2 separate regions of the Homo sapiens genome follow, and region 1 is linked to region 2. Evidence: promoter capture Hi-C in 16 types of primary human blood cells and fetal thymus (Javierre and others, 2016). All regions are on one chromosome and are shown on one strand. The core of a region is centred on a gene start or on the middle of the fragment in contact, and the rest is flanking DNA. Distances in the headings are between cores, read along the strand shown. Region 1 overlaps NRIP1 (nuclear receptor interacting protein 1). Region 2 holds the start of HSPA13 (heat shock protein family A (Hsp70) member 13).

What was found. Contacts are between HindIII fragments. The CHiCAGO score rates a contact against its expected background, and 5 or more counts as called.
Region 1: a contact is called between a fragment that was not itself captured here and the fragment with the promoter of HSPA13 in region 2, in 1 of 17 cell types (erythroblasts). The highest score is 6.2, in erythroblasts.

What each region holds. Positions count from the first base shown.
Region 1 is chr21:15,042,906-15,049,876 of GRCh38, forward strand. It overlaps NRIP1 (nuclear receptor interacting protein 1), which reads right to left. Exons shown (of 4, transcript NM_003489.4): 2 at 590-669. Among named protein-coding and RNA genes, the nearest start is that of NRIP1, 19 kb to the right of the region's middle. The HindIII fragment of the contact is 1,343 bases long and covers 2,527-3,869 here.
Region 2 is chr21:14,379,718-14,387,250 of GRCh38, forward strand. It overlaps HSPA13 (heat shock protein family A (Hsp70) member 13), which reads right to left and starts at 3,429. Exons shown (of 5, transcript NM_006948.5): 1 at 3,378-3,429; 2 at 1,486-1,826. The coding sequence starts at 3,402. It overlaps LOC105369304 (a long non-coding RNA gene), which reads left to right and starts at 3,049. Exons shown (of 2, transcript XR_007067924.1): 1 at 3,049-7,533. RefSeq lists enhancers at 3,136-3,445, 3,836-3,965. The HindIII fragment of the contact is 7,322 bases long and covers 2,526-7,533 here.

The DNA of each region.
Region 1 (6,971 bases), core at 1,948-4,447, 660 kb after region 2:
ATGTCCTGACACTCTGGGCCTACAAGCAGATAAATTATTATGCTATACCAATCTATCCACAAATGATAATGCAAAGAGAGAATTTCGCAAATGGATGTTCGGAGGCAAAACCAGGTGGCCTGGCTGAGTCTGTCCACGGACTCTGATGACAGACTGATCCAAATGCAGATGGCAGCTGATCCCTACACTAGAAGGTAGAGCTGTCACAGGCAGGAAGACTTTTAAGACTGCCTGAATGTTTCAGGTATACTTCACACTGTCTTAGATAAAAAGGAACTTTATGTATCTCATTTTCAAATCAAGACATTCTTTAAAATAGTTCTATAGTAGTAAAGTAAAATGTAAATACCTCAGTGTTTAAAATAGGTAAAACTGGTTTACTCTAAACCAGACGTTTTATTCGCTTACACAAAATTTTGATTTACCAAAATTGAAATATAACCTTCTTTGTGACAAATGGCAAGGTAGTTTATCCATATCTAAAAGTTAAAGAAAAATAACAAAATGTGGCATAACAGTCTTACTTTTCTACAATTGGAAAGGCTTGATAACATTTTTAAAAGTGGGGCAATGAGACAAAAGACAATACCTTCTGGCTGTGTTTCTCCCAAATGTTAAAATAATGAGTCCTGAGAACAGTTCTGAAATAGCTCACAATCCAAACACTTCCTGAAAATTAAGAGAAATAAGTGTTACTTCAAGTGCACCTTATCTCAAAGATTTGTTTTACAATGGAATTTTAACTACTAACTAAATCATCTCAAAAAACAACAAAAAAGATGTATTACAAGGTAAAAAAAAGTATTCATATTCTTCATGATACATGCTTTCTTTGGACATAGTTGTTGACCACATGTAACAAAACAGCTTTCATTACAGAATTATTTGCCAAAATACACTACCCAATTGTTTTTTTGTTTGTTTGTTTTTTGAGGTGGAGTCTCCCTCTGTCACCCAGGCTGGAGTGCAGTGGCGTGATCTCGGCTCACTGCAACCTCCGCCTTCCAGGTCCAAGCGATTCTCCCACCTCAGTCTCCCAAGTAGCTGGGATTACAGGTGCCCAGCACCACGCCCGGCTAGTTTTTGTATTTTTAGTAGAGACGAGTTTTCGCCATGTTGGCCAGGCCGATCTCAAACTCCTGACCTCAGGTGATCCACCTGCCTCGGCCTCCCAAAGTGCTGGGATTACAGGCGTGAGCCAGCACACCCGGCCCACTACTCATCTGTTTTTATTTTACTATAAAGATTGTCCCTATTGTCAATGATGTAAAAAGTTAATGTCAAAGATAAAGAGGAATTTCAGTCAAGGATTCTGGGAGAAAAAGTATTAGAATTATTTAACAGTCATTGCAGAGTTTGAAACACCTCATTTCTTTTCTGTACCACTAGGAACAGAAAATGTTAAACTCAGAATTAGAACCATACTAGATATAGAATGACACTGACGTGGAAAAGTTCATACTTTCAGGAACAAAAGAGTGGATCAAAGTTTTTGGCCAGCAAGAGATGTAGCAAACAATTTAACATTGTGGTGGCTGAGGAAACTTTATTTTGGTCAACAGGCCAATGGACAGTGAAGCTAGCGGTGATAAGGGAGGTACCATGCGAACTCCCTGATACCACCATAGCAGCATTCCATTTCTATCAGCCACGCCACTTAGATCTGACTTATACTTCTAGAACTCTCAATTCCTAGCCTATAACCTATGATCAGTTCTCACAGATTATAGCTTTGAATAAAAATACATCTGTAAACCTGAATTCTAACCTCCCAAAATAAAGTAGCTATTTTTCATTTTCATTTCATTTTACTGGGGGCCCTTCAGTCTCCTTAAAACCACTTAAAGATAACAAATTGCTTAAAGTAATACTTCCCCAAAATCCAGCTCTTCACCACTATACCTGTAGGTCACTTAGTCTGTATCTTGCTTATTGTTATTCTCCCTGTGTCTGTGAGCCTTCAATACCCAGCATGGTGCAAGGTATACAGCTGGTACTCAGTAAATGTCTGATAAATGACATCAATTAATCACAGAGCCTTAATCAATTAATATGCCAGGCTTAAGTAAAAATATAAAAGAGAAGACGGTAGTTTTATATGGACCAACTACAATGAAAAATATATGCCTTTAATTACTACACACACATGCACATTCTCTCTCTCATCCACTCATTCACTGTCAGTTCTTCATCAGTAAGACTCCTCCAGTATCTTATTTCAATGCTCTCCTAATCCCCCCGGCCCAGACAATCAGCCTGGTTGGGTGGTAGGTGTCCATTCTACCCAGATGAGTTGGGACTCTAGTGTCGCTGTCTGACGTCCTATACCAACCAGCATGGTACTCAGGCATTATTAATACAAGTCTCTAAGCACATAAAGGCATACCTCAGAGATATAGTGGGTTCCATTCCAGATCACTAAAATAAAGCAAATATCACAATAAAGCAAGTCACACAAGTTTTTTGGTTTCCTAGTGCACATAAAAGTTATGTTTACACTGTACTATAGTCTATTAAGTGTGCAAAAGCTTTATGTCGAAACAATGTACATACCTTAGTATAAAAATACTTTATTGCTAAAAATGCTAACAATCATGTGAATCTTTAGAGAGTTTTACTCTTCAGTGGTGGGCACCTTGCCTCCATATTGATGGCTGCCAAATGATCAGGCTTGTGGTTGCTGAAGGTTGGGGTCTCTGTAATGATTTCTTAAAACAAGACAACAATGAAGTTTGCCACATCGGCTGATTCTTCCTTTCACAGAATAATTCTCTGTAGCATGTAATGCTGTTTGATAGCATTTTACCCACAGTAGAATATCTTTCTAGATGGGAGTCAATCCTCTCAAACCCTGCCACTGTTTTATCAATTATGTTTACATGATATTCTAAATCCTTCGTTGTTATTTCAACAATGTTCACAGTATCTTCAATCAGGAGTAGATTCCATCTCTAGTAACTACTTTCTTTGCTCATCTATAAGGAGTAACTCCTCATCCGTCCATGTTTTCTCATGAGATTATACAAATTCAGTCACATCTTCAGGCTCCACTTCTAATTCTAGTTTTCTTGCAATTTCCACCACATCTGCAGTTACTTCCTCCACTGATGTCTTCAACCCGCCAAAGTTATCCATAAGGGGTGGAAGCAGCTTCTTTCAAACTCCTATTAATGTTAGTATTTTGACCTCCTCCCATTAATCACAAATGTTCTCAATGGCATCTAGAATGGTGAATCCTTTTCAGAAGGTTTACAATTGCCTTTGCCCAGATCCATCAGAGGAATCACTATCTATGGCAACTACAGCTTCACAAGATGTATTTCTTCAATAGTAAGACTTGAAAGTTGAAATTACTCCTTGATCCACAGGCTACAGAATAGATGTTGTATTAGCAGCCATGAAAATTAACATTAACTTCCTTGTACATCTCCATCAGAGCTCTTGAGTGACCAGGTGCGTGGTCAATAAACAGTAATATTTCGATAGGAATCTTTTTTTTCTGAGCAGTTGGTCTCAAGAGGGGGCCTAAAATATTCAGCAAACCATGCTGTAAACAGATGTTCTGTCATCCAGGCTTCTTCTTCCATTTATACAGCATAGGTAGAAGAGATTTAGTATAATTCTTAAGGGGCTTAGGATTTTTGGAATGGCCAAACATTGGTTTCCACTTCAAGTCACCAGCTGTATTATCCACTAACAAGAAAGTCAGTTTGTCCTTTGAGGTTCTGAGGCCAGGCATTGGTTTCTCCTCTCTAGCTATTAAAGTCCTAGATGGCATATTCATCCAACAGAAGGCTGTTTCATTTACACTGAAAATCTGCTGTTTAATGTAGCCATCTTCATCAATGATCTTACCTAGATCTTCTGGAAGCTTGCTGTAGCTTCTACATCAGCATTACCTGCTTCATCGTGCACTTTTATGTTATCCAGGCAGCTTCTATCCTTAAACTTCATGAACAAACCTCTGCTAGCTTCCAACTTTTCTTCTGCAGTTTCTTCATCTCCTCTCGGCCTTTGTGGAATTAGAGTGAGGCGCTGCTCTGGATTAGGTTTTGGCTTAAGGGAATGTTATGGCTGCTTTGATTTTCTAGGCAGACTACTAAAATATTCTCCATATTAGCAATAAGGCTGTCTATTAGTCCGTTCTCACACAGCTATGAAAAAATGCCCGAGACTGGGTAATTTATAAAGGAAAGAGGTTTCATTGACTCAGAGTTCCGCATTGTTGGGGAGGTCTCAGGAAACTTAAAATCATGGCAGAAGGTGAGGGGAAAGCAAGGCACCTTCTTCACAAGGCAGCAGGAAGAAGTGCCAAGCAAAGTGGGAAAAGCCTCTTATAAAACCATCAGATCTCGGCCGGGCGCGGTGGCTCACGCCTGTAATTCCAGCACTTTGGGAGGCCGAGGCAGGCAGATCACGAGGTCAGGAGACAGAGACCATCCTGGCTAACATGGTGAAACCCCATCTCTACTAAAAATCAAAAAATTAGCCAGGCGTGGTGGCGGGCGCCTGTGGTCCCAGCTACTTGGGAGGCTGAGGCGGGAGAATGGCGTGAACCCAGGAGGCGGAGCTTGCAGTGAGCTGAGACCGCGCCACTGCACTCCAGCCTGGGCGGCAGAGCGAGACTTCTTCTCAGAAATAAATAAATCATTAAAATTAAATTAAAAAACCATCAGATCTCATGAGAACTCACTATCACGAGAACAGCATGGGGGTAACTGCCTCCATGATTCAATTACCTCCCACTGGGTCCCTCCCAGGACACATGGGGAGTATAGGAACTACAATTCAAGATGAGATTTGGGTGGAGACACAGCCAAACCATATCAGGCTGCTTTGTGTTCTTATCATTCATGTGTTCACTGGAGTAGCACTTTTAATGTCCTTTAAGAACTTTTCCTTTTACATTCACAACTTGGTGAACTGGCACAAGAGGCCTAGCTTTCAGAAGAGCTTGGCTTTTGACATGCCTTCCTCACTGAGCTTAACCTTTTCTAGCTCTTGATTTAAAGTAAGAGACCTACAACTTTTCCTTGCATTTAAATACTTAGCCATTATAGGGTTATTAATTGGCCTAATTTCAATATTGTTGTGTCTCAAGGAACAGGGAATCCCAAGGAAAGGGAGATGAGATGGGGGAACAGCCAGTCTGTAAAGCAGTCAGACCACACTGAACAAGTTCGCCGGCTGATATGGGCACAGTTCATGGTACCTCAAAACAATCACAATAGTAACATCAAAGATCACTGATTACAGATCACCATGACACATATAATAATATGAAAAAGTTTTATATATTGTGAGAATTATCAAAACATGACCACAAAGACACAAACTGAAAACATGCTGTTGAAAAAATGGTACTTGCTCAATGCAGGGCTGCCACAAACCTTCAGTTTGTAAAAAACAAAATTATCTTCAAAGAGCAGTAAAGTGAAGCACAATAAAATGAAGTATGCCTACACATCAGCAACACCAAAGCTACCCTACATCATTAACAGGGTATGTCACCTAAGTGTATAAGTCAAAGATATCTAGAATCTTAACTACAGGCAGGATGTTCCCAAAATCTTAGTCGACAGAAGGCATCTCCTCAAAATAGAGTTTATAATCAGACAAAAACAAACAGAACCTGAAGAGACCTCCAGGTGATAAAGGAAAAACAAAAAGCATTATCATTTCCTATTAGGACATTACTTTTTTAGGAGCTAAATAAAAACATTACCAAATCATTTTATGTAATAAAATTTAACCTTATTTTGACCTTTCTCATAAAGCAAATAAACCTCTCTATCCAATAAGGTTCCATCTGAACTATGTAAGATGATAGGCAATACCTTAATTGCATTCATTTACATGACTCTGAAACTATTCTGGGCTGAAGTCACTGACCGCAAGGTCACAGAATACAAAAAAGTAGAATGTGTGTAATTTACCAAGGAGAAATGATCCACTTAGACAGTGTGGCAGCACCTTTTCCATCCTTCATTAGGGGATACTAAATGCTTAATGCAATCAACAGGTGTAGACATCTCCATTTAAAATATATCATACAAATACATACACACACACACGTATTCATTTTACAAATATATAAATAACACTAAAATATATATTTGAATAAGTCCATCATATATTATGGCTTTCTTCTTAAAATTAATCTGCCTAAATAAAGAACAATTCTATACCCTAATAGCATTTAGAAGCAAAATACAATATAGGGCCATTATTTTCCCATTGTCTTATAAAATTTCTAACACCTAATATTCAGGTTACAAAGCTATAGTTTTAGGAAAAGAATTTAAAACACAGGATGCCAAGTATGTTAAGAGTTCTTGCTTTCATTTTTTATAACCTAAACACGAATATATTCAACTAATTTGCTTAGAGAAGCATAGTTTACATGTCTCAAATCCAATAATACTATATTAATAAAAGAAAAGAGGTACAATAGATTGACAGATTAACAATCATAGATTACAGGGGATAATGTGTATTCTCCAAAACCTCAAGAGTATATCAAAACACACACACACAAAAGTTAACCCTACAAATTATTTCCCTTTAGCTTTGTAAAATGCAATTGTAACACAAACAAGGTATTATTGGCACTTGAAGTTACTGGAGAAAAGAGAAGGAACTCAAAAGAATAGGATTTAGGGTACTTTTTAAATGTTTATAATATTAGTACATATGCAGACTGTGAAGTATTTGTTTCAGGTTTAATACAACATCACCAAAAGATTCATTTAAACAGTTTCCACACATTAAATTAGGTAAATCTCTCACATTTAATTTACTATCCAAGCACTTTTACACTACTCAAGCCAATCTTTTGCAACTTACAAATGATTTAATGAAAAAAAAGCTATGATATTATAAAATTCATGCTTCTTCATTTTCTCTCCCTATAGAGAAGGGCAAAACTTTTCTTACGTAAATCTATATTAGATCCAAATCATTTCAAGAGA
Region 2 (7,533 bases), core at 2,179-4,678:
AGCAATTTTTTTTTCTTTGAAAACGGATGAAAAATTTGAACATTTTTATGGCTAGGTTTATTCAATAAGCAGCACTGATACAACTGTCTATTTTGAAACTAAATAATGGCCGGCATGGTGAAATCCCGTCTCTACTAAAAATACAAAAATTAGCCAGGCGTGGTGGCACACGCCTGTAATGCCAGCTTGGGAGGCTGAGGGAGGAGAATCACTTGAACCTGGGAGGCAGAGGTTGCAGTGAGCCAAGATCATGCCATTGCATTCCAGCCTGAGAGACAGAATGAGACTGTCTCAAAAAAAAAAACAAAAACTAATTCATTTAGAATTTCACTTCATTTAGAATTTCACTTCATAACTTCCAAGAAAAACTCCACATGGAAAAAAGCTTTAAATGTTTAAAAGAAAAAAAAAGCAGCGAAATCCAAACCAACAAATACATAAACGTATTAAGAGGGAAAAAAAAGTAGCAGTGGATAGGATGGGATAGGCTACAGTAAACATGATAAGAGTCTAAAATCAAAAATTTAAAACTTTGACATCCAGCTCAAAAACATCAGTGAAAAAAAAAAGGTAAGGAAAAGATAACAAAAACATATAATGAAGGTCTTTTATAGCTCACTAAGGAAAAGAAAAACACACCAAAACAAAAAAGGACAAAGAAAAATGGACCATAAAAGAAAATTAAAATATCAATAAAATTCTAAAAATTCTGATCTCACTAAAAAAAATCAAAATAAATAAAAATTAATACAGGATACTATTTTTCACTTATCTGACTGTTAAAGATTAAAAAAAATAACTAGCGAAGATACAGCCACTCTAAAAAATTATGGTTAAGAGCATATAACCTTTCTGGTGAGCAAACCAGAAAAATAAATCAAAAGCCTTAAAAACGTACACATTTGACCTATCAATTAGACTTCTAGCATTCAAGTTAGGAAACTTTCAGAGAAGTGTACAAAGATAAGTAAGGATATTACCGGAATCTCCAACATTAGTGAAAAACCACAAAAAAGTACACTGATAGAGACTAGTCTAATTAATAATGGAATAGTCATTCCACAAAATCATTAAAGATAATGACATGATCCTATTAATTATCCATGACATATTAAATAGCAAAAAATAGCACACCTGGTATGTTCTCTTTATATGTATATAAATATGTACACATACACACACAGAATATCTATCTATGGTACACAGGGCTTCATCAACCTTCCTGCTACCTTGAAAGAGCTAAGCAAGACATGCTGAGGATGGGACAGCAAGAAAATGGCAAGGCCTTAAGTACCTGTTAGCATTATGGAGTCAGTGATTAACTGATCCTATAGCTGCTGTGGAATTTCTGGTTATGTGAGATAACAGAACTTTCATGTATTAATAGATAAAACTAGACGAGATAGAATGTTTTGTGACATGAAGCCAAAGCATTAACTAAAAGAGTACACTAAAATTAATATAGATTTTAGATTAATCACTTACCTTAAATGGGTATCTGCCAATTTCAGCCTCCAACTCTTCTGCGGTAAAAATCTTGCCTATGAATCTTTTGGCATCATATATTGTGTTTTGAGGATTTGAATCTGCCAGCTCTACGCTTTCATATCCCACATATACATCATTGTCAGTAAAAGACACCATGCTGGGTATGCTGATATGCCCATTTTCATCTGGAATCACCTTTACTTTTCCTGTGCCAGGAAAAAACACCCCAACAGAACAATAGGTGGTGCCAAGATCAATACCAATCACTTTAGGAGTAGGCAATGGTAAATACTGTTGTGCCAAATAGCCGGCCAACAGGAGAGTCAAAACAGCCGATCCTGAAATAAAGGAAAATTAAAAGATGTATTTTATCAAACTAGTACAATGTACTAAATTACTGTAGCAAAGTCCCTTTAATATCACTCGTTGAAACAAGGCTAAAAAAGACAAATTTCAAAATTTTTTATAGGACTGCTGATAGCACTCCTCTCAGACAGCAAGTTTTTCAAAATGTAAACTGGTTATAATAAAATTTAAAATGAAGTAAACACAAACAACAAAAAACCCTATAACTGTATGTTTGTGTCATTCTCTAATAAATGTAATAAAATGTAAAAATATTTCAATAATATTTGTGCAGATGCTGACAAGAAACAACATTTATCTGGAGCAAAAGCCAGATATAATCTAATATTCTTGATCAATTGATATTTAGATTTTACAGCTTTATAAAAAGCTTCGATTATCTTTTTTTAAAAGCTCCATTATTAAAATTCTCACAAGAAAAACTTTATTATTTTATAAGTCTAAAATTCTCTCCTCGTATCTCACCTCCTTTTCCCTTTCAAAAGGATGAAATGAATAAATGGGATAAAATGATTTTGAAAGTTCCTTAGATATGAAACTGTCACTTCAAAACAGAACACAGTTAACTTTTTATGTATTTAAGTATGAACTAGGGACTTCCTTCTTGCAGTGGTAATATTTAGGGGAGAAGAAGCATAAAGGTGGGCAACCCTGACGGCAACATCTATGAAAGCTTCTTGAAGACAAGTTTCGTTCACTGTTGTATCCCCCAGACCAGGAATAGCAGATGCCCAACAAATACTAATTTAAAAAAAAAAGAAAAAAGAGTAGGAACAAATGCCACGCAGATTGTAAACATAAGCGAAGAAAGATGCCCCTTTAGTTTTTAATGAATCTCGTATTTGGTATCAGGAGGCTGTGTTATACACCTGTGTCCGCTCATATTACATATGACCCAAAACATGAATTTTCAGGGCTCTGTGTTACTAATTGTTAGCTCATCCTCATCAACACATAACTCAAAGAAATAAAACCAAGTGCGAATCCCACTTTCCACTTCCAGCTACAGGCAACATTTCAGAAGCATTTCATCACCTTGGAGACGCGGGGTGGGTGTGTGTGTGGGTGGGGGATAGGTAATTCCAAACCCGATGTGATGGAAAAAGCCTCCAAATTCAGCATCCCTGAGCCGACAGATCCGGATGTAGCTCCTCCCCCTTCCTCCACAAAGGGGTCCTGGAGGTGCACGTTCTCGCAGCCTTCCATAGCTTGCCCCAATTCAACAGGCAATTCAAAAACCTAGGTGCTGTTGAAAGGAACGCCTCCCTAAGCCTGATGTCCCTGGGATGGACACAGCTGGTCGCCGTCTATCCTACCTTGGCCTGCAGGGGCCGGGGCCCTCCTAGAGGCGTCCCCGCCCCCATCCACTCCGAACAGCCGAAAACCGTCTCTAAGTCACCTTTCTGACTCCCCTTCCGCTGCTCCAGCTAGATCCAGGAGGTGAGTCAACCACCCCTGCCCACTCTGGCATCCTCAGATCGCCTCTACGCCCGCAAGAGCAACAAGGACCCCCGGGAACCCACCTAAGATCGTCATCTCTCTGGCCATCACAGTCCCGCCGAACAGGCTTGTGATGACTGTACCAGACGTGAGGCACCGCCCCCACTCCTCCCGGCAGTCCCGCAGCCCCCTGGGAAATGTAGTCCGCTTGCTCTGAGGCAATCGGAGAAGCTATCGCTCTGACCAAAGCAAGGACTTCATCTACCGTGAGGGCGCGGGGCAAAGAGCCTCCATTCAACCGCTGCCAGTGACGACTGAGTCCCCCTTCCACGCAACGGCCGGCAGGACCAGTGAGACTGAGGGGGAGGAGCGCCGTGGCGAGAGACTGGCGTTTATAATCAAACCTGTGGTCCCGCGATCCTACTTGAGGGAAAACAGGCTATCTCTTTAGCCCCGCCCCGCGCTTTGCATTCTGGGAAGCGGAGTTCCAGCCTTTCTCTTTCCGCGGGAGGGAATGAAAGGGAGGGTGAGAACCGTTAGTTATTTCTTTCTTTGGTCGTGCCCCTAATCAGGTCCAGGATTCGAGTTTGTGTTCTTTCGTTTTAATTCCTTTTAAAGCGCGTTCGTTTGCCTGAGATCTAGCTTCTAGATGGCGTTCCTATAGCCTCCCGGAGCCCCAGCCATCCTCCGTAGAAGGGTCCCTGCCGCAGTGCGGGGCCTGAGGGAAGTCGGCTCTGGCGTCCGTGCTCCAACGCTGGGAGCAGCCCTGAAACTCCAGTGACCCTCAGCCGTCTGCCTTTGTTTTGGGATAAATGAATTCAAGCATTCTTCAGTCAATTCGATTTATCCAAGGGATCAGGGACACATTTTCTCTATTGCTAGCACTGACGTGGGCCATTAAAAACAAAAACAAAAACGAAATTAAAAAGAAAACCCTTAGCTCTCTCTTCAAGTAAGTCTTAAGTGGCCAAAATTGACCTTATGGGCAAGTCCTGTAACGTGACAGCCATTTTAGGACGCTTGTGACATGCTGTTCAGGTTCTAGTCTGAAGTAGGATTTTTCTCGCATCTTGGTCACTGGTAGCACTTAATGACTCCTCTGAGAGTGGTTTTGTCATTTTTGCTGTTAGAGTTCACGATAACTAAGATCCTGGAGAATTGAATCCATTTTCTCAGCTTAGATATAAATCAAACCATCCCTGTTGACAACACGTCAGCCTGCTGTGGGAATACATTGCTGGTTATTTCTGACTTATCAATGTGAATTTTGATTATGGAAGCTGAATTCTGGTTGATAGGGATCCATTGTAATGTTCTCTCTACTTTTGCGCATTTTTAAGTATTTCATAATGCGAAATATAAAAAGTGTGTGTCTATAGTGAGTGCTGTTCAATAAGATTCTTATAAGGAGTGAAGAATTCAAGCACTTAGTTCTTAAGTATTACTTGTAATGGGCAGTGGGCTGGAGGTGTTCCAGGCAGACGGAACTCAATTACCAAGAGCACAGAAGCAAGAGATCATCTATTCCATAGATTAGAAAGTGGTGGATCATAAAGCATGAGGTAGAATTCTGAGAGACAGAACTAGAGACTTAAACCAGATTAAGATTAGCCGTCTGTGACAAGCACTGGTCATTGGGATTCTCCCTGCCACTCACTCCTTTCTCCTTGCTAACAAGATCCTGATTTGTTCAAGAAGCAGGTAAAGATTATGTGATCTCAGAGTAGAAGGCCTTTAGAATTAAGATTGAACTAAATAGGTTGTATTCATTTTCTATTTCTGCCTTAACAAATTACCACAAATTTAGTGTCTTAAACCAACTCAAATCTATTATTTTTACAGTTCGGTATATCAGAAATTTGGTATGGGTCTCACTTAACTAAAAGCAAGTTATTAGCAAAGCTGCATTCCTTTCTGGATGTTCTAGGGGAGAATCAGTTTCCTGCTAATTTGAGTTATTGGCAGAATTCATTTTCTTGCAGTTGTAGGGTTCAGGTCTTCATTTTCTTGCTGGCTGTAACCTGAGAGCTGTTTCCAGTTTCTGAGGCCATACACATATCTTAGCTCAGAGACCCTCTTTCTCCATCTTCAAAGCCAGCAACAGCGGGTCAGGTCCTTTACAGAGGACATTTTTTTGCATCGCTCTTCCAAATTTTAGATGTCATGTGTTTACATTGGACCTATCTGGACAACTCAACGTAATCTCCATTTCAAACCCTGTAAACTTATCATATCTGCAAAGTCCGTTTTGCCATGTAAGGTAACTATTCACGAGTTCTAACAGTTTGAGGAGGCCTTTATTATGCCTACTAAAATGGTTCTGTGGCCCCTCAGATTCACATCTGTCCACATACAAAATGCAACATCCACCAAAGTCCCATCCCATTATAGCATGAACTCAAAGTCCAGAAAGTTCATCTATACTTCATCAGTTCAAAAGTCTCGCATCTCATTATCTAAATCAACTAAATGGGGTAGTAACTGATACCACTTATCCCTTCTTGTTTGTTTACAATCAGAGGAACAATGAAATACTTAGATAAGAATGCTGGTGAGACTATTCCAGTAATGTTATAAAGAACAGAAAAGTCAAGGCACTGGGGTTGGGAAGTAATCATTGTTATCATTCTCCAATAGTGACCAATTAATTCGTTGTTTTTATAGTTATTGTTTGGTGTTTTATGTTACAATCCATTGCAATTATTATCCTTCTTGATACTTAGATTGCTTTAATTTTGGCCGATGGCAGCCTCTTCAAAATTCACTCATGAATGCTTTTGACACAATCGCTTTACTTACTGCCTTGCTACCTGCTCTAAAAAGATATCTAGAATCCTCTTATTTTTTTTTGTTTGTTTTGTTTTGTTTCATACTTATAATTAACTGTATGTCTAAGGAACCCTGCTTTCTTTTATTAAGAAAGTGTGGTATCTGGAGACCATAATTTGTATGCCAGGGGGTTATTATTTTAAGGGTGCCAGTTCTTTTTATATCTTTGAATTCAGTGAAATATCAAATAAAAAGCCAGCAGGATATTTTATGACTTGATAAAATGACAATAAAATTTATTTGGAATATTTAAGATAAGAATTTAATGGGTATATAGTCCTTGCGCATGTTAAGTGACAAAACTACAAACTTAATACTACAGAGGAAACAGAAAATGGACTTTAGGCTCAGCAGCAGCACATGCTTGTAGCCCCAGCTACTCGGGAGACTGAGGTGGAAGGAACACCTGAGCCCAGGATTTTGAATCCAGCCTAGGCAGCATAGCAAGAACCCTATTGCAAAAAACTAAATAAAAGAAATAAAAATAAAACAGACCTAAGAAGAAAGTGGCAATCTCTTCAAAATAAATGAAAGCTATATTATTCAACAAATGTAACAGGGCAGTTGGCTATTTATAACTTTGAATGTAAAAAGGGATATTATACCTTAACATCAAAATAAATATAAATAGATAAAATGTTTAATTAAATAACTACAAGTAGTTTTATTCATTAACTTAGGGGTAGGAGAAGTCTTTGAAATTAAGACTTAAAACCTAGAAACAAATAAGGCAAAACTAAACTTAACAGATAAATTTGATTATGTAGAATTTAAGATTATCTAGCAGGCAGAATTACCTATTTGAATTTATATGAAGTCAAAAGACAAATGACAAACTGAAGAAATACTAAACATACATCATGATCTATAATAGATTTAATTCCTTTATGGAGAATTCCTTCAGAGTATAAAGGTGTACAACTCAATTGAAAAATAAGAAAGGACATAGACAATAGAAAATAAAAATAACCAACAAACATGAAAATATATTCTACCTTAGTCACACTTAAATAAACATAAATCAGAATAATAACATGTCATTTCTACCTATCTGTAATCAGTTGAATTGTGGCCCCCTCCAAAAAAGGTATGCTGGAGTGCTAAACCCCTGTACCTCAGAATGTGACTTTATTTGGAAATAAAGTTGTTGGACATATAATCAGATAATATGAGGTCACACAGAAATAGGGTGGTCTGTTAATCCAGTATTACTGGTATCCTTATAAGAAAAGGGCCATATAAAGGCACGGAAACACAAGGAGAATGCTATGGGATGACCAAGGCAGTGATTAGAGTTATGTAGCTACAAGCCAATGAACGTCAAAGATTGTCAACAAACCAGCAGAGCTACGAAGAGTCAATAAAGGATTCCCCTGCATGTTTTAGAGGGGACATGCCCAACTCATATTT